Linked DNA regions of Homo sapiens: regions 1, 2, 3, 5, 6 and 7 are each linked to region 4. Evidence: promoter capture Hi-C in 16 types of primary human blood cells and fetal thymus (Javierre and others, 2016). All regions are on one chromosome and are shown on one strand. Each heading gives the region's core, a stretch centred on a gene start or on the middle of the fragment in contact. The rest is flanking DNA. Distances are from core to core; before and after follow the strand shown.

Region 1 (3,987 bases), core at 1,257-3,756, 320 kb after region 4:
CTCCCAGACATGGTTCCCAGGATGACAGCTGTAGTTACCGCCTTCTTTCCCTCCATCTCATGAGACAAGACTGACTTCATTTCACTTCTGGTGTTTATCAACTACCTAGTAGAGAGGAGCTACAGGACAGAAAATGCCATTCTCTTTCCAAACATCCTGCATCTTTAAATATCTTTGATTTGTGGATCCTATGATCAAAACATTTTGGGAATCAGTGGTGGGGCTGTTGTCCAAGCAGGCTGTTTAGTAATTTGGGGGCAAAGATCTGTCTCCAAATGCCATCACGACTTCTTGTGAAATCATCCACAGTTCCCGCGGGTAGAGAAAGCAGCTTTGCTCCGTCTCAGTCATTCTGCTGCTAGCGAGGGATGGGGGACAGTATGACAGATTTCCCGGGCTGCTGCCATGCCCCCCGCCCCTACCGGGGCTTCAACGGCACAGGCCCCAAGGTTCTGAAACCGCCGTGGCTCCGGAACCCCCTATTACCTGTCCCCTCTGGGCACCCCTTCCCTGCCCGTCACACACAGCCGGGGCGCCTCCTTCCGTCCAGCCATTGACAAACCAGCTCCAAGTCACTTACTCCTCCCGAGGAACACAAACCGTCTCTCAACACGCAAATCCCCCACTTTAAAAACAACACACCCCAGTGATCCGGGAGACGAGAAGGGCAGACGCTTAGGTGGCCGCTCCGCGCCTCCGAGGCTGTGGCTAAATCTCCACATTTGTGGATTCAGCCCCAGTCTGCACCCGACCTGGATCAGATCAGAAAACCTGAGGCTTTCGCCTGAGAAGCCGATTTCCTACCTCCAGTTCTGAAGTCACCTTCGGAGGGTTCCTCTCCGGAGCTCCTGGGAGTCTCCGCCGGCAGCAGCTGGGCGCCGGGTAATCCGCTCGCCAGGCCGGTCTCCGCGCCCCCGGGGCAGCTCATTAGCCTAATCACCTGCAGGCGGCCCGGGGGCCTGGGGCGGCTGCCAGCTGCCCTCCTGGAACGCGGCTCCTGCAGGACTTCCCGAAGGCTGCTCTCCGCCGGCTCCAGGTCTGTGGGAGGACCCCCCCCTCCTCCCTCCGCGCCGCGGTGGAGGAGGTTAGGAAAAGCCTGTAATGCAATCCTAAACTCGGCTCGCCACTCCCCTGCTCACTTGTCAAAACCCCACGGCATTCCAAGATCCCCTCCCCGGTCACTCCCCTCGCCGGGAAAAGGAAACCGCCCTGGGGAGGATTTCAGGGAGTTTGGGGCTTCTCATCCAGACACCTTTGTTTACACCGAGGGCTCAGGAGCTTCCTGGGGCAAACCTGGAGCAGGTTAGAGGAAAAAGCGCCCTACCCTAGACCCTCGTTTGCACCAAAAGTTCTCCCTCCGAGCCATTGCAAGAAGCTCCACCTTCCCACATCAATTCACTTCATGACCACTCCGTTTCATAATCCGCGGCAGCCTGAGTTCTTACAGGGGTGGAGCCCCCAGCTAAAATCACAACCATCGTATGGGGCAGGATGTCAGGGAACTTTCCAGAAATCCCCGGTCAGAGCCTTTCGGCTGGAGTAACCAAAGTTAACACCGCTGAATTACAATCGCCGGTGACTGCACGACTGAAGCATTTCCTTTATACCTTCTCCCGCTCCCCTACCCCTCCCACCTTCTGTGGGGTTCAGTCAACAAGCCCTCCCCCAGGAGGCCTGAGTGGGCCTGGGCCCTGCAGCCATCGCTCCAGCTGCAAACTGATGAGGAAGCCCGACCCACGAGGCCGAATTGTTTACATCACACCCACTGAGGCTTCCTGTCTTAAATTAATGGGAACACAAATAAGACAGGAAAAGAGTGTTTGCTTTTCTTAAAGCAGGGGAGGGGGGCTGGCAGCGGGAGGGGGAGTCACCCCACATTTCATTGCTTTTCAAAACTTCAGCTGTATTCTCTTCCATTTTTCCACTCCTGACACTTGTTGAAAAGTAAAAGCGTCACTGGTGCCAAACCTCAAGCCTTTATGGAACGTCTGCTCAAAACACATTTCACCTGGCTTCAAAAGGCACCCAGGGTGGAGCTCCCAGGGACCTGAGCTAGAGGAATGGAGAGCTCCTGAGGTTGATGGCACCAATCTCAGTGCAAACAAACTCACTCAAGCCCTGGGCCTCCCTCCCGGGACTTGCACAGGCAGGCACACACTCCACTCCTTGGGGTTCAGGTTAAGTCACACCCCAGTCCCACTCCACCCCTCTGGCTCTAAGCTCTGGTTGTGGGCATCCAGCAGCCCCTAAAAGTAAATGAGCTTTGCAACGGACAGATCTGGTGGAATTCGAAGCAATTAATTATAATGGAGGAGGCAAAAGAAAGCTTCAATTCCAGTACCATTACTGCCACCGGAATGGGTAATTAAAGCCCAGGAGGGGCCAACCCATGTCAAGCCTGGGCTGGAAATCTGCCCACTCTCAGAAGCAGCCCCAGAGCACATAGTAAATAATTATCATCATTACCAGTCCTGGAATTACCCCTAGTTGCTTCATTCAGGTGGGCACAACAGCCAACCCAGAAACAGGCAAGGAGTGTCAGGTCATGGTATTCCTCCTTCGGAAGAACCAAAAGGAAACAGAACCCCAGGATAAGATTTATTTCAAGAAGTTTTGGGTACTGCAACCAACAATACCTCATGGAGTTTAGGAGAACACTACATGTGCCCAGTGAGAACAAGCTTTGTAGACCAGTCCTCCAAACATCGCAATTCCTGGGTCAAAGCAAATTAGGCTGATGATTTCAGAAAAAACCAAGGGTATTAGAATTCTCTAACACAAAGTGTCTGGCTTACACATATTATAAGGGTCTCAGTGAATGCTGGCTCCACCCCCTTCCCTTTTCCCACTCTTCTGCCAGGAAGTGGTAGTCTTTCATTAGCATCCTATAAGTTTTATGGGAATTAAGTTCAAATTGAATAATTTTCTAATAATAATTTGAGAAGTGCTCCTTTGCTTCCTTTCTGAGTGTTTTTTCCACAACAGTTTCCCAATGTTTTAGCTTCTTTCTCCACTCCTTCAATCCAGGTACATAATTGATGATGTGTACATCAATGCTGTTTAAAGTAAATGTATGGGCCAGGCGCAGTGGCTCACGCCTGTAATCCCAACACTTTGGGAGGTCGAGGTGGGTGGATCACTTTTGGTCAGGAGTTCGAGACCAGCCTGACCAACATGGTGAAACCCCATCTCTGCTAAAAATACAAAAATTAGCTGAGTGTGGTGGTGGGCACCTGTAATCCCAGCTACTTGGGAGGCTGAGGCAGGAGAATTGCTTAAACCCGGAAGGCAGAGGTTGCAGTGAGCCGAGATCCCATCACTGCACTCCAGCCTGGGCTACAGAGTGAGACTCCAACTCAAAAACATAAAATAAATACATAATAAAGTCCAGGCACGTGGTGGCTCATGCCTGTAATCCTAGCACTTTGGGAGGCCAAGGTAGTTGGATCACTTGAGGTCAGAAGTTTGAGAGCAGCCTGGCCAACATGGTGAAACCCCATCTCTATTAAAAATACAAAAATCAGCCAGGCGTGATGGCACGCGCCTGTGGTCCCAGCTACTCTACTTGGGAGGCTGAGGAAAGAGAATAGCTTGAACCCAGGAGGTAGAGGTTGCAGTGAGCCCGGACTGCGCCACTGCACTCCAGCCTGGGCGACACAGCAATGCTCAGTCTCAAAAATAAATAAAATAAATAAATAATAAAAATAAATGTATGGTTTTAAGTATAATGCAAAGAAATATTCTGCCCCCATCCTCATCTTTGTTGCCTCAGCTCAGTCTGGGGCACGTAAGTGCTGGGAATTGAAAATGGGACCACACGGCAGACACGGTGGCTCACGCCTGTGATTCCAGCACTTTGGGAGGCCGAGGCAGGCGGATCACGAGGTCAGGAGCTCAAGACCAGCCTGCCCAACATGGTGAAACCCCGTCTCTACTGAAAACATAAAAATTAGCCAGGTGTGGTGGTGGGTACTTGTAATCCCAGCT
Region 2 (3,684 bases), core at 963-3,462, 430 kb before region 4:
TGGAGGTTGCAGTGAGCCCAGATGGTGCCTGGGCAACAAAAGCGAAACTGTCTCAGAAAAAAAAAATAATAAAGTATTCCTCCCTTTTCCAACTACACATCTCTGTGAGGCCACATTTTCTTCACATACCTCAACCCAAACAAAAGATTATCTGCAGAAGCAAACAGGAGAATCCAGCCATGTTCTATTAAAGAGATTGGTAAAATGTAAAATAATGTCACTCATAATTTTGTTTTGCAAAATATGATTATTTTCCATTAAAAAAATGTTAAAGTATCTTTCCATTCCTAGGAAATACATATTGAAGTACTTAAAATGAAATATGCCTGCAGTTTACTTTCAAATATTCATCCAAAAAATTGTATAGATGTATACACATGTATGTATGTGTGTAAACATGTATGCCTAAGTGGCATCAGAGATACTTGGTCTTTGTCCCTGGTTCCTGGCACAGAGCTCCTAAAACCTAATTTCTTGAGTTAAAAGTGATAGTAGGATCTTTTGTTCAAATGAGGGACTCTTGGCAGGGCCCCTAGACAGCTTCAGGATGGGGACTGGTTGCTAGAAAGATGAAACTTTGATTAGAAGCTTAGAATTTTCAGCTCCACCTCCCAACCTCTGGGGATGGGTGAGGAAGTGAGGACTGTTAATCACCAATGGCTAAAAATTTAATCAATCACGTGTAATGGAATCTCTATAAAAACACCCTAAATGATGGGGCTCAGAGACTTAAGTTGGTGACATAGTAAGGTGCTGGGAGAGTGGTGCTCCCAGAGAAGGCACAGAGCTCCATCTCCCTTCCCCATACCTTGCCCTGGGCATCTCTCCCATTTGGCTGTTCCTGAGTTTTATCCTTTATAATAAACCTGTAATTGTGAATAAAGTGCTTTCCTGAGTTGTGTGAATGGTTCCAGTCAATTATCAAATGTGAGAAGGGGATTGTGGAAACCCTCTGAATTTACTGGTCACAAGTACCAGTGACAACCATGGACTTACGGCTGGCATCTGAAGTGGGGGCCTTCTTGTGGGACTGAGCCCTTAACTTGTGGGATCTGACACACTAACTCCACGTAGATGGTATCAGAATTAAATTGTAGGACACCCAAATGGAGTAAGAGAAGTGGTGATGGAAAAAACACACACACTTGGCTCAGAAGTAAAAATAGCTCAGCATATGCGTACGTTAACTTTCTACAATTTACTTCCAAACAGTTCAGCAAAAAGAGACAGAAGGTTGCAAAATAATAGGTGAAGGATATGAGTGTTCCTTATACTATTGATTCAACTTTTCTCTGGGTTTGAAATTTTTCAGAATAAAATACGTTGGGGGCCAGGCACAGTGGCTCATGCCTGTAATCCCAGCACTTTGGGAGGCCAAAGCGGGCAGATTGCTTGAAGCCCGAAGTTCAAGACCAGCCTGGCAAACACAGTGAAATCCCGTCTCTACTAAAAATACAAAAATTAGTCGGGTGTGGTGGCACGCACCTGTAATCCCAGCTACTAGGGAGGCTAAGGAATGAGAATCGCTTGAACCTGGGAGGTGGAGGTTGCAGTGAGCCAAGATCACGCCACTGTACTCCAGCCTGGGTGACAGAGCAAGACTCTCAAAAAAAATAAAGATAAAATACGTGGGGGAAAAAAATCAAGTGCAAGGTCACTGAAATAGGAAGCAAACATTCTTCAAGTTAGAGGGGCCATTTCCATCTGCGACCCTGTGGCCTAGGAGCCATTCCCGAGGCTCCTCCAATAGATTAAAGAGGTCTTAAACTTCCTCCCTTCATTTATAGGCTCCCCATCCAGCGCAGGCCCTGTGACTCCAACAAGGAACTGAGATCTCATGCACCTTAAAACAATAAATGAGAATGGCTCATGGCTAGACATGACTGGTACCAGATCCCAAAACCCAAGGTTTGACTAGGCCCTGGTCTCAATTTGGAGAGCTTGGCTGTGGAGAAGAGGGGCGTGAGAACCAAGTGATCGAATTCCTGTTAAAATGAAGTAATTTGTGGCTCACACCTGTAATCCCAGCACTTTGGGAGGCCGAGGCGGGTGGATTACGAGGTCAGGAGTTCAAGACCAGACTGGCCAAGATGGTGAAACCCTATCTCTACTAAAAGTACAAAAAATTAGCCGGGCCTGGTGTGGGCGCCTGTAATCCCTCCTACTCAGGAGGCTGAGGCAGAGAATTGCTTGAACCTGGGAGGTGGAGGATGCAGTGAGCCGAGATCGTGCCACTGCACTCCAGCCTGGTGACAAAGCGAGACTCCGTCTCAAAAAAAAAACAAAAAAAAAAGTAGTAATTCATATTTTTCTTTAAAATTACTAGAAGTACTCATGGTTCAGGTGGCACTTAGTCACCAAAAAAAAAAAAAGTGGGAAGTGGTTGAAACTGTTGCTGACGCCGGGTGTGGTGGCTCAAGCCTTTAATCCCAGCACTTTGGGAGGCCAAGGCGGGCGGATCACGAGGTCAGGAGATCGAGACCATCCTGGCTAACATGGTGAAACCCCGTCTCTACTAAAAATACAAAAAATTAGCTGGGCGCGGTGGCGGGCGCCTGTAGTCCCAGCTACTCGGGAGGCTGAGGCAGGAGAATGGCGTGAACCTGGGAGGCAGAGCTTGCAGTGAGCCGAGATCACGCCACTGACTCCAGCCTGGGAAACAAAGCAAGACTCCGTCTCAGGAAAAAAAAAAAAAAAAAAAAAGAAACCATTGCTGACACCAAAGGTCAACTTAAATTCATACCGAAGAAGTTAGGAACCTTACCACCTTCCTTCAGATGCTGCACACTGTAATTTCAATCACACTCTGCCCTGGATCCCACACCCTTCTACAGCCACCATCCTATTTTTCTTTATCCTTCACAACCAAGCTGCTCAAATGAACTTACACACAGTCTCCACTCCTCACTCAACCAGCCTCTGCCCTCCCCACCCTTGTCACCACCACCAATGGCCTTCATGTTACCAAATCTTCAGAAACATCAAAGTTGTAAAAGTCAAGGAAAAACTAAGGAACTGTCAGGCTGAAGGAAACTGAAGTAAAGAGAGAATCAAATGAGACACGTGATCCTGTGTTACATGCTTTTGCTAAAAGACACTGAAACTCACAAAATCTGAATGGGGTCTCTGAGTGGAGGGGTACATGGGAGTTTTCTGTACCATTCCTGCAACAACTACATACTTGAAAAATAAAGCCTTCAGAATAGGAGCTATTAAAAGACTTGGGCTTGGCAGACACAGTGGTATACACCTGCAGTGTACAGATGCTAGGAAGGCTAAGGCAGGAGGATCACCTGGGCCCACAAGTGCAAGGCCATGGTGCGCTAGGATCACACCTGTAAACAGCCACTGCACTCCAGCCTGGGCAACACAGAAAGACCCTGTCTCTTCAAAAAATAAATACATAACATTTTAAAAGACTTGGGCTTAGCTTACTTAGGAAGGCAAAACTGGAACTTTCACATCACTTTTCAAGATACGTGAGTTACTACATAGACAACTTCAGCTGATTTCTGAACTACATATACAGTCTTCCTGTTACCCATGGAGGTTACATTATCCAACTATTGAAATGAGTTGAAATTCAGGAGCAGTTAAAAAGTGGCATAAATCTTATCTCCTAACTATGCAGTAAGTTATCCAGCAGAAGGATAAACCATTTAAACTATCAAGAACCTAAAAAGT
Region 3 (4,028 bases), core at 1,323-3,822, 420 kb before region 4:
TTTCAATCACATCCACAATCAAGTCCACATCTTCACTGACTGCCTAATTCCTCTGGTCCATTCTTCCTAACCTGTATCTTGTAATTGGCATAATTTCTTCTTTAGGAAAAACCATCTAAGCCCTTATCACCTCACATACAGATTAAAGCCTACAATTACCTAAGCAATCTCACCTGCATTCATTTATTCCCCAACATCCCTTCCTCACAAATCCTTCTTGTACAAAGATGCCAGTGTCAAGTCTCCCTAAAACAAGACAGGAAACCCAAGAGAAAAAGCTATACGAGTCCTCTCTAGGTGATTTCATCAAGTCCCTCTAATGAACTTCCTTCACTTTATCTATTCAACCCATTCCCCTTTTCTGTTGCTCATCAGGCCAAAATTAGGCATGTCACATTGCTGCTTCCTGTCCCATAATAATCTATTCATACTTTACTGTCCCAACACTTGACCTGCCTCCTCCAAGTTGCTTTCAAAATGTGCAGTTCTCAATTAAATTTGCATTGGTTTAAATACAGCAAAACTAGACTTTAGAGACTTTAACAATAATCCAGCATCGTACAAAATACTTTTACTAGTTTGTTCTATTTTAATAAATGTCCCTAGTTAAGAAGATTGTAACATACATATTAGGCAATTATCAGATCATAGTACTTTTAACATTCTTCAGATCAAGCCAGATAATAATTCCTCTGAATCTAAAGAAACAGCCAACTTTGGCAAGGCATGGTGGCTCACACCTGTAAACCCAGCACTTTTGGAGGCTGAGGCAGTTGGATCACAAGGTCAGGAGTTCAAGACCAGCCTGGCCAAGATGGTGAAACCCCATCTCTACTAAAAATACAAAAATTAGCCAGGTCTGGTGGCGGATGCCTGTAATCCTAGCTACTCGGGAGGCTGAGGCAGAGAACTGCTTGAACTCAGGAGGCTGAGGTTGCAGTGAGCCGAGATGGCGCCACTGCACTCCAGCCTGGGTGACAGAGCATGACTCCATGTCAAAAAAAAAAAAAAAAAAAATAGCCAACTTTACCTGAAACATGTTATCATCTCTGCTGCTGCTGCTCTGTTTAGAAGATGACAGGGCTCTCGAAGTCTCACCTGTCTTTTGTTTCTTTACAGGTTTTTCTGGAGCAACTTGCTTTTTCCTCTTTAACTAGAAAAGAATATGGTTAAAATTTGCACACATAAAAATAAAACATACCCCAGTGTCAAAAGATCCCATTACTTTTTAAGATTTAAACAATCAAAAGACTACATCCAAAATATCATAAATATATACATAAGCAAGTTTCACTCAACAACAAAACTATGAATCTAACCAATCCTTCTGTCTAGTAATGTTTTCAAACTCTGTTCTCAGGATCCCAAAAGACACTTCAGGCATTATAGTAGTATTAACCACAGGAACGGTTATTTTGTGGTTTGGGATCCCACATACGATTTCTTTGGTAGAAAAAAAAATGGAGGGATCTTGCTACTTCTGAATAAACCTGGAAACCACAGTCTACTAAGGCTAGTCAGTTACTTATTTTACGAAGCAGATATACTAATTAAAAAGAATATAACCAACTTATTCCATTTCCAGGATATGTTTATTTATGTCCTGCCTATTCCAAAAGGAATTTATGCTGGCTTAAGGAATTTATGGGCCGGGCGCGGTAGCTCACACCTGTAATCCCAGCACTTTGGGAGTCCGAGGCGGGAGGATCACTTGAGGTCAGGAGTTCGAGACCAGCCTGGCCACATGGTGAAACCCCATCTCCACTAAAAATACAAAAAAAGTTAGCCAGGCGTGGTGGTGGGCACCTATAATCCCAGCTACTAGGGAGGCTGAGGCAGAGAACTGCTTGAATCCAGGAGGCTGAGGTTGCAGTGAGCCGAGATCGTGCCATTGCACTCCAGCCTGGGCAACAGAGCGATACTCCATCTCAAAAAAAAAAAAAAAAAAAAAAATTAGCCAGGCGTGGTGGCACACGCCTGTAATCCCAGCTACTCGGAAGGCTGAGGCAGGAGAATCGCTTGAACCCGGGACGCGAAGGTTGCAGTGAGCCGAGATCGCGCCATTACACTCCAGCCTGGGCAACAAAAGCAAAACTTCATCTCAAAATAAAAAATTAAAAAAAAAGGAATTTACAATTAGGCAAATCTTTAGAGAGCTATTTTGCACTGGGCACTGACAGCCAGCAACTCAAGAACTTCCTCATTACAAAAAAAAAAAAAATCATTGTAGACAGCTATGTGTTAGACTAGCTTTCAAAAATCACAACGTTGTTTTAAAAACAGCATTATTTTAAAAGCTTATTAGAAAGTCGCATTCTCAAAAAGAGCTAACCCATAAAAACCACTACAATACCCAACCCAAACAGAAGAGGGCAGTCATGTTCCTTCTTGATGGAATAGTATAAATATTTTAATGTTACTAAATTAATTGAATGTTACCAAATTAGATGAAGCTAGGAAAAATATTATATACATGTAAAACATGAAATGAAAAATGTGGTATACAAGGTTAAGTGTTTACAAGAGTAATATTACTATTTGGGACAAACAAAAAGTTAGCTCAATATGCAGAAAGCAATTATTCTATAAATCAGGCTCTAAGTATTCCCTGTGGAATAGTGCATGTCTGGCAAATAAAAGCTCAATACACATGTGTTACATCAACATACTCAAATACTATATAGGGTGCAAATTTTAAAATTAAGAAATTTACTCAAGTATAGTCTTTGAAGCCTTATTTTACCCTTCCATGTGTTGTTATATTCTATATTTATACTTTAAGGTTGCAACTTCTCCAATCTCCCATACGCTCTCCCCTTTTCTTTTAGCTAAAATTGCTAAGCTTCAGGAGGAAAAAAAAAAGATAGGGAGCCTGCTTCTTTTGAATAAACTTTCGGAAATCACAGGTCTACCAGTGCTAGTCATTACTTACTATTTTACAAAGGATATATACTAATTAGGAAAAACACGACCAACTTATTCTATTTCTAGGATATAAATATCTCTTCAGATATGTAAAGTTCTATGCGATAAAAGACAATTCTGCACGGAAGACTTGACCGCAGAGTGAGACGCTCAGTTATGCTCCACTGAGATGCTCAATTTAGCGAAATTCACCAATTACGGTGCAGCTGTCATCTAATGCAGAAAAAGCCTATCTTGTCAATGGGTTTCAAGTTAGCTTTACTGCGTGCTGATTTAATTAAATGGAAGGGACCAGAGCACAAACTTAGTACAAACTTAAAAATGTACCAAGTCTAAAATTCAGAAAACCTTATGTGCAGAATAAACACCAGTAACTAAGAGAACTGTCAAAATTAACATTTTATGGCCACTCATGATGGCTCACACCTGTAATCCCAGCACTTTGGGAGTCTGAGGCAGAAGAATTGCCTGAGGCCAGGAGTTTGAGACCAGCCTTAGCAACACAGCAATACCTGGTCCCTACAAAAACATTTTTTTTTTAATTAACCAGGCATGATGCCTGTAGTCCCAGCTACTCTGGAGGCAGAGGTGGGAGGACTGCTTGAGACCAGGAGGTCGAGGCTGCAGTGAGCCATGATGGTGCCACCACACTCCAGCCTCGGCAAGAGAGTAAGACCCTGTCTTTAAAAAAAAAAATTAACATTTTACAAAAAAAAATCTGGTAAATTTCTAAATAACGGCAAATAGTGACTTTGGCCTACTTAGAATTCTATGACCCTAGGATGCAAGGCAGTGTTTCTGCAACTTTAGGGTTCCTAATGATGCTCAACAGAAGACTTGTTAAGTCTGATTTAGGGCCTATGAGTATGAATGTGCAAAAAGCATCCTAGGCACTTCTAGTCAAGTGGTCCAGAGACCAACCGTACCTCCAGAAATACCCATTCACATTCTTATTTTTTATTTTTTATTTATTTATTTTTTTAAAGAGACAGGTTCTTGCTATGTTAGCCTGGTTGGTCTTGAACTCTTGGCCTCAAGCAATCCTGCCACCTCGGCCTCCCAAAGAAGTAGGATAACAGGCATGAGCCACCGCGCCCAGCTAG
Region 4 (3,671 bases), core at 198-2,697:
GCACTTTGGGAGGCCAAGGCCGGCGGATCACGAGGTCAGGTGATCGAGACCATCCTGGCTAACACGGTGAAACCCCGTCTCCACTAAAAATACAAAAAATTAGCCAGGCGTGGTGGCGGGCGCCTGTAGTCCAGCTACTCAGGAGGCTGAGGCAGGAGAATGGCGTGAACCCGGGAGGCAGAGCTTGCAGTGAGCCGAGATTGTGCCACTGCACCCCAGCCTGGGCAACAGAGCAAGACTCCGTCTCAAAAAAAAAAAAAAAAAAAAAAAAAAGAGGGTGTGAATGGGAGAAATTGGTTGAGGTGAAATCGACCTTCACCAAGACAGGTGGGAAAAAGGGAAGGTCTACTTGGTGTGCCCCCTGGACCCTCTCTTCCCTTCATTTAGCACTGTCACTTTCCAGGGCATGGGATGGTAGGCAGCAGCAGTTCTGGATAATGGATTTGTGGAAGAGAAGAATCCATCTAAAGCACTCTTTAGCCACAGCCCATGATCACTTTTTTTAAAAAATTTTTATTTTTTGCTTTGCTGTTGTTCCACTCTGTCCATACATTGTTTAATACAGGATGGCACACAATACCATTCCTGGTTAAATGTTTCACTTAACAAGCGCCACCCTCTACTCCTCCAACTCCTGTCTCAGGTTTGACAGCTATTTTTTTAACCTAATTTGCGCACGCCAAGAGGATTTCACCTAGTAACTACACGGAGAGACATCCGATGCGTACAAAGACGTGGCATGAAACGCTGCAGGTTTATTGTCTCTATAAAAAGATCGTTAAGGTCGAGCGTGCTAACGTGTGCGGTACTAACTGTACTCACTACGCCCTGGTCACTTTATAGCACAAGTCCGAGGCAAGGAAAGAAGTTTTACAAACAAAACTGGTCAACTGTTCTATCTTCTTACTCCTGGAAAACAATAAAGGTCCACTTTCAAACCATTTGGACGCACTTGCTCCTTCTAAAGGGTTAGGGAGTCCCGGCAGATAGCGTACCCCTCCCCGCCCAGCAGCAGAGAGCAAAGTCCTTCCTGCCGATCCTGCAGACCCCGGAGTCCAAATGGGACCCCGTCCACACGACCGCGGAGTCGCCTCCGAAGACGGCGGTGTCTGGGGCGTGGAGGGCACGGCTGGAGGCTGAGTGGGGTCCACCTTCGCGTGGCCCAGGCTCTTCCATTCACGGGGGGCCCCGCCAGGTTCAGGCTCCAGCCCTGGGTAGTGAAGGGGAAACGGGGAACGGAAGGAGGGAGGGCACGTCACGGGAGCAGGACTGCAGGACCGCGGGTCAGGGGGCGCAGGAACGCCAAAGAAAAGACAAGCACCGAGGGCCGGGAAGGGTGTAGGCTGCAGTGGCAGCGGATCCCCGGCCGCCGCTTCCGGCGCCTCCCGGCCCAGCTCTCCCGCGCCGACTCTGCCACATCCTCCGGTGACGTCAGCCGGGGCCGCCATATTGGAAAGGCGCCGCCGCCGCCTCCGCCTTGGAGCTCGGGGTGTTTCGGGGACTGCGGCCACAGGCAGGAAGGCGCTCCTCTCCTGCCCCGCCGACGCCCGGCCAGCCCGCTTCGCCCTGACCTGTTTCCTCATGACTGCCCCCGGCCCTGCTGCCGACGGACGTCGCCCCGGCGTCCGGATTTAACACGGAAACCCGGATCGGAGGCCGCGCGGGGAGGAGGAGGGCGACCCGGTCGGTCCTGCGACCCTCTCGGCCCGGCTCGGCGCCTCGGCGGGAGCCATGACCTCGCTGACCCAGCGCAGCTCCGGCCTGGTGCAGCGGCGCACCGAGGCCTCCCGCAACGCCGCCGACAAGGAGCGGGCGGCGGGCGGCGGCGCCGGCAGCAGCGAGGACGACGCGCAGAGCCGCCGCGACGAGCAGGACGACGACGACAAGGGCGACTCCAAGGAAACGCGGCTGACCCTGATGGAGGAAGTGCTCCTGCTGGGCCTCAAGGACCGCGAGGTGCGGGCGCGGCGGGCTGGGCGGGGGGCGGCGGCGCGGGGCCCGGGCGCCAGGTGAGCTCCAGGTAGGTGCCAGGTGAGCGCCCGAGGCTTCCGGCCCGCGCACCTGCCCTCGCTCCGAAGTCCGCGCCTGGTGGCGCCCAGCTGACGCCGAGCGGTGTCGGAGTTGGTTGACCCCCTGGCGCGGCTGGTGCTTTCTGGATCCTCCCCGTAGAGATGGCTTGGATTTTTCCTTACCCCTTTCACAGTCGCTCCTTTCATTTCGACACCCTGGCAGTTTGTATTTCTTCGTCGCCTTTTTTCCGCGTTTTTAACCCGTGTAGACCCCAGGGTGCAAATCCAACCCGGAGACTGCCCGGGAAACTAACAGCTGGAGCCACCAGCGCCACGAACTCTTTGGGTTTTTGCAGGCTTTAGGACCTGGGAGGGGTGCCCGGATCTGCTTGCTGGGGATGTTTTTTTTTTCTTCTTCTTCAGTTAAAGCTTACTGTTGGGAATTACGAAAAACGTAGGCGAAGTGGTAATAGAGGGAAAAGCTCTTTTACTGAGTAAAGTTAAGTTAAGTTTCTCATGAAACCTCCTGGTAAATGACTTTCTAGGTGAACTTACATTAGGTGAGAGATTATTTTTAGTATCGCTTTTATATTTTATCAGTTGATGAATCTCAAAGTCTTGCCGTCTTAAGAAAGGGCTTTTTCATCGAGTGCTTGAAATGTAGGTTTGTGAGTTGATCAGAGGCCTCAAAGCTTCAGGTGGGTTGAAGTTGCAATAGATAATTCTTTGTATTCTGACTTTGAAAGCGTTTATTTTCACTTCAGTGTCCAAAATTTTCACACACAGAAAAGTTGAAAAAGTGATAGATACATATGCATATATACTCTTTCTAGATTCTATGACGTTTTGCTGTATTTGTTATATTTGCCTACAAAAATGATTATTTATTTATGTGGAGACGGAGTTTCGCTCTTGTTGCCCAGGCTGGAGTGCAATGCCGCGATCTCGGCTTACCGAAATCTCCGCCTCCCGGGTTCAAGCGATTCTCCTGCCTCAGCCTCCTGAGGCAGGCATGCGCCACCATGCCCGGCTAATTTTGTGTTTTTGTTTTGTTTTGTTTTTGAGACGGAGCCTCAGTTTGTCGCCCAGGCTGGAGTGCAGTGGCGCGATCTCCACTCACTGCAAACTCCGCCTCCCGGGTTCAAGCGATTTTCCTGCCTCAGCCTCCCGAGTAGCCGGGACTACAGACGTGCGCCGCCATGCCCAGCTAATTTTCATACCTTTAGTAGAGACGGGGTTTCACCATGTTGGCCAGGATGGTCTCGATCTCTTGACCTAGTGATCCGCCTGCCTCGGCCTCCCAAAGTGCTGAAATTACAAGCTTGAGCCACCGCGCCCAGGCCTGATTTTAAGAAAGTTTTCCAAATTCAGGAAGGTGGGCAAAAAAAAAAAAAAAGTCTTACAAAACAACGTAATCTTTCTTGGTCACTGAAACTTACTAGATATAGGCGAGTTTTATATGGACCGTTTATGGACCTTTCTTATTTAGAAATCTAATGAACTAACGGTTAGCTTGATAGATACGTCTGGGGCATTTGCCATATCTTGGTTTCCCATTTCTCAGGTTTTAATAACAGTAACCTTGAAAAAAGTTGATGTTCCTCTGGCTGTGAAAGGGCTGCTGTACCTGTTTAATTATTGAGTTGTGATGATAAAGCAGGC
Region 5 (3,773 bases), core at 736-3,235, 320 kb before region 4:
TCCACCCTCTCAAGCTCCAAGACCAATGTAGGGGGATTCCACCCCATGAGTTCCAGGTTACAGCTTCCTTTTCTGGGGTTTATTGAAGTCACAGGGTGTTATGAAGTGTGGGTTAACCTTATAGGAAAAGTAATATAGGGGTTGAGCAAAGGTTTGGAGATGGACGGGAGTCACCAGATTGCACTGACATTGAAGGAGATGCTGGCTACTATTAAAGAGATCATTCTCAAGGGATGTCAGTGGGAAGCAGAGCCAGCTGAGCCCCTGGGGGCAGATAAGGACCAGTGAAGACCACTGATCTGCAGATAATGACTCAGCTCCCACCCAGTTCCTGGGTTCTTGAACAAAACCCTTTAAGGAAAAGCCCCTTATTCCTGTCCAGGTGGCCTCTTCAGGTCAGGCCCTCTCTCAGAGAAACCCCCAAACCTCGATCCCCACTCCCATCCTCCCCTGGAGATGTTCGCCTTTTAGAATCCAGCTCTACAGGCAAAGCATGGTGGAGTCAACTGTGGATACAGAACAGAATGTAAAGTTTATCAGCCTGACGAGGTGAAAGTGAAATGACAGATGTCGGAAATTGGGAAGTAAAAGATGGACAGTTGTGTTGAAGGGAAAGGCAAGCTTTTTTTTTGCTTTCAATAAAGGGAGAAGAAGATACTCCTTGAAATCACTAGAACAAGAGAGATTCCAGTCCATTACTTAATGTTAGAAACCAGTAGAGGAACTAAAAATAATGATATAGCTTTACTGGGACAGGAGTGTGAGCAAGTTAAATCCTTATCTTTGTGAGCAAGTTAAATCCTTATCTTTCACAAGAGGAAGTCAAGAGATAATGTCTAAAGATGATAAACCAGGAAATAGCAAGCAGTGTAAACATAGTATTTAGACACACAGAGGTAATCACTAAACACTGAAACCAAACTGCTGGATGACAGACTGGGCACAGGCATAGGTGGATACCTCTGTAGAATTTAATTTTTTTTTTTATGTCTCTCCACCTTTTCTATTGGGTTCCATGAATAAAAGATTCTTGTTGTTGTTGTTGTTTGTTTGTTTGAGATGGAGTATCACTCTGTTGCCCTGGCTGGAGTGCATGGTGCAATCTCGGCTCACTGCAACCTCTGTCTCCCAGGTTCAAGACATTCTCATGCCTCAGCCTCCCCAGTAGCTAGGAATACAGGTGCGTGCCACCACACCCAGCTAATTTTTGTATTTTTAGTAGGGATGGGGTTTTACCATGTTGGCCAGGCTGGTTTGAACCCCTGACCTCAAGTGATCCACCTGCTTTGGCTTCCCAAAGTGCTGAGATTACAGGTGTGAGCCGCCACGCCCAGCCTGTTTGTTTTTGAGACGGGGGTCTCATCATGTCACCCAGGTGGGAATACAGTGATGCAATCACAGCTCACTGCAGCCTCAAACTCCTGGGCTCAAGCACTCTTCCCACCGCAACCTCCCAATTAGCTAGGACTACAGGCACACGCCACCATACCCCACTAATTTTTTTTTTTGCTGTAGAGATTGGAGGCAGGCGGCAGTCTCGCTTTGTTGGCTAGGCTGGTCTCAAACTCCTAGCCTCAAGGAATCCTTCTGCCTCCCAGAATGATGGGATTACAGGCATGGGACCACCATGCTCGGCCAAGAAAAAGCTTCTTAAGCTTCTTTTCTTCTCTTTATTCCTTGAAAAACTCATCAATCTAGTCCCTTCTTCCCCCAAAAGCACTAATTTTAAGGGTGTTCACCAAAATTAGGGACGTTCAGTGTATCAAACTGTGTAGGGAAAAACTCTCCTGAAACCATGTTTTTCCTCTACTCTCACACCACAACAATCATCAACACAGAAGATTTCTGTGACCAAATATATGGGGCTTTTTCCCCACACACCAAGCAACGGACACCAGGGAGGGTCTTCTCATTCAGTTCCAACCGTGTCTGCCCAGAGATGGTGTCAGATCCCACAAGCTGAGGACTCAGTCCCTAAGACTGCCTCCTGAACCCCCACTAACACACACCAGTTGCAAGGTCGGCCCTCCAGAACCTCTTACTGACCAGCTTCAAGTTGGGGTTCCCATGACCCCCCTATATGGGTTCAATAAATTTGCTGGAGCGGCTTATAGAACTCAGGGAAACACATTTACTGGTTTATTATTAAGGATATAGTAAAGGATACACGAGAAGAGATGCACAGGGTGAGATATTAGGGAAGCGGCGCAGAGTTTCCATGTCCTCCCTAAGCGCCACCCTCCAGGAACCTCCAGGAGCTCAGCTACCCGGAAGTTCACTGATCCATGTCCTCTTGGGTTTTTACAGAAGCTTCATGACATCAACATTCTTTCCCCCATGGTATAGGGTGGGAGCCCTCTCATGGGAGAGTCTTAAGATCCATCACCTGATCAGGCCGGGTGCAGTGGCTCATGCCTGTAATCCCAGCACTTTGTGAGGCAGAGGTGGGCAGGTCACTTGAGGTCAGGAGTTCGAGACCAGTGTGGCCAACGTGGTGAAACCCCCGTCTCTACTAAAAGTAAAAAAATTAGCCTGGGCATGGTGGTGCATGCCTGTAATCCCAGCTACTTGGGAGACTGAGGCAGGAGAATCACTTGAACCCGAGAAGCAGAGGTTGCAGTGAGCTGAGATCGCGCCACTGCACTCCAGAATGGGTGACAGAGTGAGACGTTGTCTCAAAAATAATAACAATAGTGATGAAGGGGGAAGGGGTTAAATATCTGAAACAGTCTAACAGTGCCTGGTACATGGGGGAAATTCATTAAACATTGATCCAGCACATGAACAAGAGGAACAATGTTCTATTCAAGCTGGAAATCCTTGATACCCTTGTTTCTCTTATTCAATTCAACCTACTCCTATTGATTGTACATTTTCCCTCTCTCTTGAATCAGCCCTTTTCTATCTCCAAGGCTTCTTCCCCATCCCAGTTGCCATTATTTCTCACTTGGACCATGCAGTAGCCCATGGCCAGAATTTCTGTGGGCCTGACCTAAACAGCTTCCTCAACCCCTAGACTAAGGCGGAACAAAACTCAGAAGACAAAAAAAGGACAGCCGGGGACCTATGGAGCAGCATATGAGTTCATTACAGCTAACAAATTTAAAACAACAACAACAAAACCCTGTCTTCCACACTAACCATATTGCATGACTTCATCTAGCATGAAGTTAATCCAGGAAAGTGGCTGTTTCATGTCAAAAACAGGAAGACGGGCTCTGAGGCACTTTTGAGAGAGCTCTAATCTTGGATTTTCAGTGTCAGAAATCAGAGGGAGAATAAAATCTATGAAAGAAAGCCGACGGGAGAAACATAAGATCCAAGATGGAAACTGAGCTGGGACTAACAGATCCTCCAAAGAACCCTACAATTTACAAGGTATTATCAATTCTCCAGAGCAGGAGTCCAGTAGGTTTCATGGGTGTGTGACCTGCACAGTTGCACATTTCTGTACAGAGAAGGGCCCTGCACTTAGTTAACATTTTACAGTCAATATCTTGAAATTCTTAATAATTTTCGAATAAGGGCCCAAATCTTTTTATTTTGCACTGAGCCCTGAAAATTATGTAGCTAGTCCCGGCAAAGAACCTACTGTACGGAACCTGGAAAACAGAAGTTCTAAGTAGTTATTTCGTTTTTCACTTTATGTAAAGTGAATTTCCTTCTTGAAGGAGAGATTTTCTTCCCCTTCTCAAATCACATTGATTTTTTTTTTTTTTTTTTTTGAGACGGAGTCTCGCTCTGTAGCCCAGGCTGGATTGCAGAGGTGCCAT
Region 6 (3,624 bases), core at 101-2,600, 350 kb after region 4:
ATCTTGGTTCACTGCAACCTCTGACTCCTAGGTTCAAGCGACCCTCTTGCCTCAGCCTCCAGAGCAGCTGGGATTACAGGCACCTACCACCACACTCGGCTAATTTTTTGTATTTTTAGTACAGACAGGGTTTCACCATGTTGGCCAGGTTGAACTCCTGACCTCAAGTGATCCACTCACCTTGGCTTCCGAAAGTGCTGGAATTACAGGCATGAGCCACCACACCCAGCCATAGATAGGAAAGTTCTTACAGCTATTGGATACCACTTTACTTTGGTAAAGGGGGGTTAGTAACTGGTAAGAGGTAAGAAGGAGGGCTCTGACATACTAGTTAAGTTCTGTTTCTCAGTTTGGGTGATGGTTAATATAAAAATTCACTAAGCTGGGCTGGGTGTGGTGGTTCATGCCTGTAATCCTGGCACTTTGGGAGGCCGAGGCGGGTGGATCATCTGAGGTCAGGAGTTTGAGACCAGCCATGCCAACATGGTGAAACCCTGTTTTTACTAAAAATACAAAAATTAGCGAGGTGTGGTGCCTGCAATCCCATCTACTCTGCTGAGACAGGAGAATAGCTTGCACCTGGGAGGTAGAGGTTGCAGTGAGCTGAGATCATGCCACTGCACTCCAGCCTTGGCAACAGAGCAAGACTGTCTCAAAAAAAAAAAAAATTCACTAAGCTGAATACTTTTGATATGTGCCTTTACGTATATCGTATTTCAAAGATAAGTTTACTGGAAAAAGCCCTTCTGGAATGATAAAAATAAAGACCTCCAAAAATCCACACCTCTATAAGAGTAACAAAAACACTAGAAAAAATGACCAAAATCAACTTTTTCAGAACTCTGGAAGTTAGCCAAAAGCTTGAAACATCACTAGCAGCCACTGAGGCAGAACAAGTTTGGAAGCCCCCAAAAACTCTATCTTCACAGAATTGTTATTACTTGACCTGTCCAACAGCTCTCTGAAAGGCTCCATTTTCAAGGTTTCTCCTTACTTGACTTGATTCAGAGCTGATGCTGCAAAAGTAGCCTTGTCCCTAGGTTATTTGTTGAAAACAATCCATGGCAATTGTTTAATATGTGCAGCTGCCTGAGAAAATATCTGCAAATCATATATCTGCTAAGGAACTTGTATCTAGGCTATATAAAGAATTCTTACAACTCAATGTAAAAGTGGGTAAAGAATTAAAATAGATATTTCTAGCTGGGCATGGTGGCTCATGCTTATAATCCTAGTGCTTTCTAAGGCTGAGGCATGAAGATGGCTTGAGGCCAGGAGTTTGAGACCAGTATGGGAAACACAGCAAGACCCTGTCTCTACAAAAAAATTTTTTACAAAATTAGCCAGGTGTAGTGGCGTATGCCTGTAGTCCTGGCTATTCAGGAGAATAAGGTGGGAGGATTGCTGGAGCCCAGGAGGTTGAGGCTACAGTGAGCCTCTGCACTGCACTCATGCCACTGCACTCCAGGCTGGGTGGCAGCGGAAGACCCTGTCTTAAAAAATAAAATAAATAGACATCTCTCCAAAGATATACAAAGGTTCAAAAACACATGAAAAGGTGTTCAACATGATTAATCATTAGAGAATACAAATCAAAGTCACAGTGAGATACAGCTTCACACCCACTAGGATGGCTGGTCTCATAAAGACAGGTCACAAGTGTTGGCAGGAATGTGGAGAAATTAGAACCCTTATACACTGCTGGTGGGGATGTAAAATAGTCCTGAGAAACAATTTGGAGATTTCTCAAAAAGTTACACATAGAGTTACTATATCATCATCAATTCCATTCTTACATATATATCCAACAGAACTGAAAACATACTCACACAAAAGCTTGTACACCAATGTTCACAGCATGATTCATAATAGTCAAAAAGTGGAAATGACCCAAATGTCCACAAATGGATGGATGGTTAAACAAATGTGGTTAAACATATGGAATACTATTTGGCAATATAACAAAGTAAAGTTCTGAATCATACTGAAACACAGATGAGCACTGAAGTCATTACACTTTCAGTACAGAAGACCATGTACTGAAATATCTGGAATAGGTAAATCTATAGGAACAGAAAGTAGGTTTCCAGGGGCTTGGAGAAGCGGAGTATGGAGAATCCCTGTAATAGGTATGTGTCTTCTTTTTGGAAGGATAAAAACGTCCTAAAATTAGATATTGGTGATATTCAATGCTGTGAATCTATAAAACCACTCAATTGTACATTTTAAAGGATAAATTTTATAGTAGGTGAACATCTCAGTAAAGCCATTTTAAAATTATTTTTATTTTTTTATTTATTTATTTTTTTTGAGACAGAGTCTTGCTCTATCACCCAGGCTGGAGTGCAGTGGCGTGATCTCAGCTCACTGCAACCTCTGCCTCTCAGTTCAAGCAATTCTCCTGCCTCAGCCTCCTGAGTAGCTGAGATTACAGGCGCATGCCACCATACCCAGCTAATTTTTGTATTTTTAGTAGAGACGGGGTGTTACCATGTTGGCCAGGCTAGTCTCGAACTCCTGATCTCAAGTGATCCACCCACCTCAGCCTCCCAAGGTGTTGGGATTACAGGCATGAGCCACCACACCCAGCCTCAGGAAAGCTATTATATAACAAGAAAGCTTACTTTAAAAATTCCTTCATATCGTTATTAATCACAATTACGCCTACAAGGATAAGTCAGTTTTCCAAGGCACGGATAAAGGCCCCAGAAAACCAGGGACTTTATATGTTTTATAGAAGAGTATTTCCCCAATATGCAGTTCCAGAGCTGAAACAGTAGGTGGTCAGTAAATATCCTTAAATGAATAAATATAGATTAAGAAAGTGTTCAGAACCCAGATTTTCTGATTCCCGGTTCACCCCTCCATAGTGGGGAAGTGGCAAGACAGTGACCTCATGAATAAAGAGCAAGGTTCCCTGGCCAGGATGCCACTTACAGAATTGTTGCTGCCTACAGGAAGGTTACGCTCCTTTCTGGGGAATGGACGTGCTGTCTATAGGGACAGACACACTATTTGGCATATGGGTAGCAATTGACAGAGCATCCCAGCAAAAAAAGACTCAGGTCTTGGAGGCAGGTCACCCCGGCTCGATTCCAGGCTCTGTCTCTTAATAGATGGGTTTATCCAATCTTTCTCAGCCTATATTTCCTCATCTGTGAATGCAGGTAATAATACTCGCCTCTTACCTCATAGGGATGTTGTAAGAAGTAAATGAGAAGCATATACCTAATGCATGTGGCTCATTTGGGTAATATCTGATAAATGTTTTAATTTACATTGATAATATCGAATAAACAGGTTTCATATATCTTTTTTTTTTTTTTGAGACAGAGTCTTGTTCTGTCACCCGGGCTGGAGTGCAGTGGCGTGATCTCGGCTCACTGCAACCTCTGCCTTCCGAGTTCAAGTGATTCTCCTGCCTCAGCCTCCCAAGTAGCTGGGAATACAGGTGCGTGCCACCACAGCTGGCTAATTTTTTTTGTATTTTTAGTAGAGACAGGGTTTCACCATGTTGGTCAGGCTGGTCTTGAACTCCTGACCTCAAATGATCCACCCGCCTCGGCTTCCCAAAGTGCTGAGATTACAGACATGAACCACCGTGGCTGGCCTCAAATATCTTGT
Region 7 (4,064 bases), core at 824-3,323, 290 kb before region 4:
CAGAGCCAAACCATGTCAATGAACACTTTGGTAGTTTCCAATTTTGGACTAATAGGAATAGTTGCTCCCATGAATATTTGTGTACTTATCCTTTGGTAAACATATATACACATTTCTGAGATAGATCCGAGAATAGAATTGCTGGATTGTATAAGTATGCACTGCTGAGCTTTAATAGACTCTGCCAAACAGTTTTCGAAAGTAGTTGAAACAATTGGCACTCCCACCCTAGTAATGACAGTTCCACTTGTTCCACACTTTTGTATTTAGATATTTAAATGTTTTTTTCTAACACCGTGTCATAAAGAAGCTTGTCTACATGACTTTGAGAAGTTGCTATGTGAAACTACAAAGGTGGGAGTATGGCCACCCCAGCACAGAATTCCTGTTCCACATCATGTCTGAATGTACTCAAGGTTGGGTGCCACTTAGTGGAATTGGTGGCACCAAGGAGAAAGGCCTTGGTTGAGTCACAGCCTAGCCCAGCAGTCAGCTCTGGGGCTCTGCCTCATACAGAGGATGATTCACTCCATGCCCCTCCTGGTAGAAGAAGAGGTTCTTCAAGTGTTCCTTCCCTTCAGCCCAGTCAGGGCAGCTGGAGTAAAGCAGGGCTGACTGTGCACAAGTGGAGGAGTCTGGAGTAGGCAGAGGAAAGGGAAATGAGGGGGCTGTCTGACAGCTAGAAAGCAGATTCAAGGTAGGTGGGAGTGGGGGAAGCTAGGGTACAATGACTATATTTCTAAGACGTATGCAAATCAGATGTACTCAGAACTAGGTTTTTATTGAAAAATTATTCATCATATGGGGAAAATGTTTCCCTAACCATCACAAAAGGGCATATAATGAAAAAATAAAGTCTTTTTTTACCTCTTAGATTCACAGTTCTCCAGGCTGTTTCCCCTAAGACAGGCACAGTCCCTCCAGAAGCAGTCTGTACTTACACAAGCGTAAACACAGGTATCTTCAATAAGTTATTCAACTTCTTTAGGTGTCTTAGTCTATTTTGTACTGTTATAACAGAATATCACAAACTGGCTAATTTATTATAATGAGCAGAAATTTATTGGCTCACAGTTCTGGATGCTGGGAAGTCCAAGATCAAGGTGCTGGCATCTGGTGAGGGGCTTCTTGCTGCGCCATCACATGGTGGAAGGCAGCGTACAAAGAGAAACTGTGTCCTCACAAGTGGCATTAATCTATTTATGAGGGTGGACCCCTCAGGGGGGCTTAAACACCTCCAATTAGGCCCTACATCCCTATACTGTTGCCTTGGGGATTAAGCTTCCAACACATGAGTTTTAGAGGGGACAAAAACTGGGCTTCAGCGTCCTCATCCTTAGAATTATGAGGCTGGGCAGAACGTTTCCCAAACTTACTTGCTGGTAAGACTCATTTGGGAGGACTTGTTTAACATATGATTTCTCCAACCAAAGGCCCTGGGATTCTGATTTAGTGAAAACGCAGTGGGATTTAGGAATTTGTATAATTGGAAGAATCTCTAGGTGACTCTTATTATTAGGAATTTGGAGAATCACTGGATTTAGAGAGTCTCTAACAGTTAAAAATTTTCAAAAGCCTATAATATTCTGCCCTTTAGAAATCCTAATATGATCTTATGTTGTAGAAATCAGAACTAATGAAGAAAGAAGAAAGGTGCCTTTATGGGAGCATAGTAAAATGACTGAAAGCCACCATGTGGGCCCTTTTCCAGTAACAGTGGGGAATGTTGGCACCTCTCCTTGGTCTTGTTGCTTTTGCATGCATGGAAGCTTGTAATTGTGATTTAGTTCGCTCTGATGACATGGACTTAAGGAAAGGGGCATCTTTTCTGGGCAATTCAGTGAAGATTAGAGAGCCTGGATCAGTCGGGAGAGGAATGTATGCGACTTCTTCTGTAAAAGCTGGGAAGTAAATGGAGATGGCTACAGACAACAGAAGGCAGTTAAAGCCTTCCCCAGATGGGTATGACTGGGTTTTAATCCAGATCTCAGCTTGAATGGATAACATGACCCAAACACTTGGAACTTAGGACTAGAAATGTAGCCCCCTACAAAAGGACTTCTTACAGCTGAAGAATCTCTCAAGTAGTGCCAACAATCTCTCAAGAAGATGCGTTCGTTTCCCTACATGGACTGTACCTTTTGTAGGGCCTTCCCTGGCTTGAGTGTGTTTGTGAGCACAGGCACACACGTGTGCATGTGCACATGTGCGTGTCTGTGTATGCAGGCCGTATTAGGCCATTCCTATGTTGCTATAAAGAAATACCTAAGCCTAGGTCATTTATAAAGAAAAGAGGTTTAACTGGCTGATGGTTCTGCGGGCTGTACAACAAGTGTGGTGCTGGCACTTGCTTCTGGTAAGGACATCAGGAAGCTTTCAATCATGGTGGAAGGCAAAGGGGGAGCAGGCATGTCACACAGCAAAAGCAGGAGCAAAAGAGAGAGCAGGGAGGTACCACACAGTTTTAAACAACCAGATTTTGTGATAACTCACCATTGTGAGGACAGTACCAAGCCACTCATGAAGGATCTGTCCCCATGACCCAAACACCTCCCACCAGGCTCCACCTCTGATATGGTTTGGCTCGATGTCCCCACCCAAACCTCATCTTGAATTGTAATCCCAATGTGTCAGGGGGAACCTGGTGGGAGGTGATTAAATCATGGGGCAGTTTCCCCTATGATGTTCTCCTGATAGTGAGGGAGTTATCATGAGATCTGATGGTTTAAAAGTAGTTTCCCCTGCTCTTTCTCTCTGTCCTGCTACATGTAAGACATGCCTTGCTTCCCCTTCCCCTTCCGCCATGATTTTAAGTTTTCTGAGGCCTCTCTAGCCATGTGGAACTGTGAGTCAATTAACCCTCTTTCCTTTATAAATTACCCACTCTCAGACAGTTCTTTATAGCAGAACGAAAATGAACTAATACAGAAAATTGGTACTGGGATAGCACGGTACTGCTATCTTTATAATAACCTGAAAATGTGGAAGCGACTTTGGAACTGGGTAAGAGGCAGAGGTTGGAACAGTTTGGAGGGCTTGGAAGAAGAGAAGAAGATGCGGGAAAGTTTGTAATGTCCTAGAGACTTATTGAATGGTTTTGACCAAAATACTGATAGTGATATGGAAGTCCAGGCTGAGGTGGTCTCAGATGGAGACGAGAAACTTATTGGGAACTGGAGCAAAGGTCACTCTTCCTCTGCTTTAGCAAAGGGACTGGTGGCATTTTGCCCCTTCCCTAGAGGTCTGTGGAACATTGTTTTGTTTTGTTTTGTTTTGAGACAGAGTCTTGCTCTGTTGCCCAGGCTGGAGCACAGTGGTGCAATCTCAGCTAACTGCACACTCAGCTTCCCAGGTTCAAGCTATTCTCCTGCCTCAGCCTCCCGCGTAGCTGGGATTACAGGCGTGCACCACCACACTTGGCTAATTTTTTAAATTTTTAGTAAAGACAGTGTTTTGCCATGTATCAAACTCCTGGCCTCAAGTGATCCACCTGCCTCAGCCTCCCAAATTGCTGGGATTACAGGCATAAGCCACCATGCCCAGCCAAGATCTATGAAACTTTGAACTTAAGAGAGATGATTAGGGTATCTGGCAGAAGAAATTTCTTTTTTCTTTTTTTTTTTTTTGAGATGGGGTTTTGCTCTTGCTGCCCAGGCTGCAGTGCAATGGTATGATCTCAGCTCACTGCAACCTCTGACTCTCAGGTTCAAACGATTCTCCTGTCTCAGCCTCCTGAGTAGCTGGAATTACGGGCACCCATCACTCCACCCTACTAATTTTTTGTATTTTTAGTAGAGATAGGGTTTCACCTTGTTGGTCAGACTGGTCTTGAACTCCTGACCTCAAGTGATCCACCCACTTCAGCCTCCCAAAGTGCTGGGATTACAGGTGTGAGCCACCACTCCCCACCAATTTAGGGTATCTGGCAGAAGAATTTTTAAGCATCAAAGCATTCAAGAGGTAACCTGGCTGATTCTGAAAGCATTCAGTCGTGTGTGTTCACAAAGAGTTTATCTGAAACTGAAACTTATGTTTAAAAGGGAAGCAGAGCATAAATGTTTGGA

The links. Contacts are between HindIII fragments. The CHiCAGO score rates a contact against its expected background, and 5 or more counts as called.
Region 1: a contact is called between a fragment that was not itself captured here and the fragment with the promoter of GOLPH3 in region 4, in 1 of 17 cell types (non-activated CD4 T cells). The highest score is 5.2, in non-activated CD4 T cells.
Region 2: a fragment that was not itself captured here is called in contact with the fragment with the promoter of GOLPH3 in region 4 in 14 of 17 cell types (total CD8 T cells, total CD4 T cells, naive CD4 T cells and 11 more); the score reaches 21.1 in total CD8 T cells.
Region 3: a contact is called between a fragment that was not itself captured here and the fragment with the promoter of GOLPH3 in region 4, in 16 of 17 cell types (naive CD4 T cells, fetal thymus, total CD8 T cells and 13 more). The highest score is 33.6, in naive CD4 T cells.
Region 5: a contact is called between a fragment that was not itself captured here and the fragment with the promoter of GOLPH3 in region 4, in 4 of 17 cell types (activated CD4 T cells, total CD4 T cells, non-activated CD4 T cells and 1 more). The highest score is 6.6, in activated CD4 T cells.
Region 6: a contact is called between a fragment that was not itself captured here and the fragment with the promoter of GOLPH3 in region 4, in 1 of 17 cell types (naive CD4 T cells). The highest score is 5.6, in naive CD4 T cells.
Region 7: a fragment that was not itself captured here is called in contact with the fragment with the promoter of GOLPH3 in region 4 in 2 of 17 cell types (M0 macrophages and total CD8 T cells); the score reaches 6.8 in M0 macrophages.

The regions. Positions count from the first base shown.
Region 1 is chr5:31,851,986-31,855,972 of GRCh38, reverse strand. All of the region lies in intron 2 of PDZD2 (PDZ domain containing 2), which reads right to left. LOC124900953 (a long non-coding RNA gene) reads right to left here and starts at 1,117. Exons shown (of 2, transcript XR_007058717.1): 1 at 805-1,117. RefSeq lists enhancers at 1,297-1,969, 1,970-2,643. The HindIII fragment of the contact is 355 bases long and covers 2,329-2,683 here.
Region 2 is chr5:32,605,163-32,608,846 of GRCh38, reverse strand. No RefSeq gene overlaps it. Among named protein-coding and RNA genes, the nearest start is that of SUB1, 21 kb to the right of the region's middle. The HindIII fragment of the contact is 3,243 bases long and covers 591-3,684 here.
Region 3 is chr5:32,588,688-32,592,715 of GRCh38, reverse strand. It overlaps SUB1 (SUB1 regulator of transcription), which reads right to left. Exons shown (of 5, transcript NM_006713.4): 3 at 1,031-1,153. Among named protein-coding and RNA genes, the nearest start is that of SUB1, 5.1 kb to the right of the region's middle. The HindIII fragment of the contact is 545 bases long and covers 2,300-2,844 here.
Region 4 is chr5:32,172,095-32,175,765 of GRCh38, reverse strand. It overlaps GOLPH3 (golgi phosphoprotein 3), which reads left to right and starts at 1,447. Exons shown (of 4, transcript NM_022130.4): 1 at 1,447-1,956. The coding sequence starts at 1,732. RefSeq lists a silencer at 1,554-2,163. The HindIII fragment of the contact is 5,568 bases long and covers 1-2,440 here.
Region 5 is chr5:32,495,724-32,499,496 of GRCh38, reverse strand. No RefSeq gene overlaps it. Among named protein-coding and RNA genes, the nearest start is that of ZFR, 53 kb to the right of the region's middle. The HindIII fragment of the contact is 655 bases long and covers 1,658-2,312 here.
Region 6 is chr5:31,826,378-31,830,001 of GRCh38, reverse strand. All of the region lies in intron 2 of PDZD2 (PDZ domain containing 2), which reads right to left. Among named protein-coding and RNA genes, the nearest start is that of MIR4279, 110 kb to the left of the region's middle. The HindIII fragment of the contact is 976 bases long and covers 863-1,838 here.
Region 7 is chr5:32,459,330-32,463,393 of GRCh38, reverse strand. No RefSeq gene overlaps it. Among named protein-coding and RNA genes, the nearest start is that of ZFR, 17 kb to the right of the region's middle. The HindIII fragment of the contact is 604 bases long and covers 1,772-2,375 here.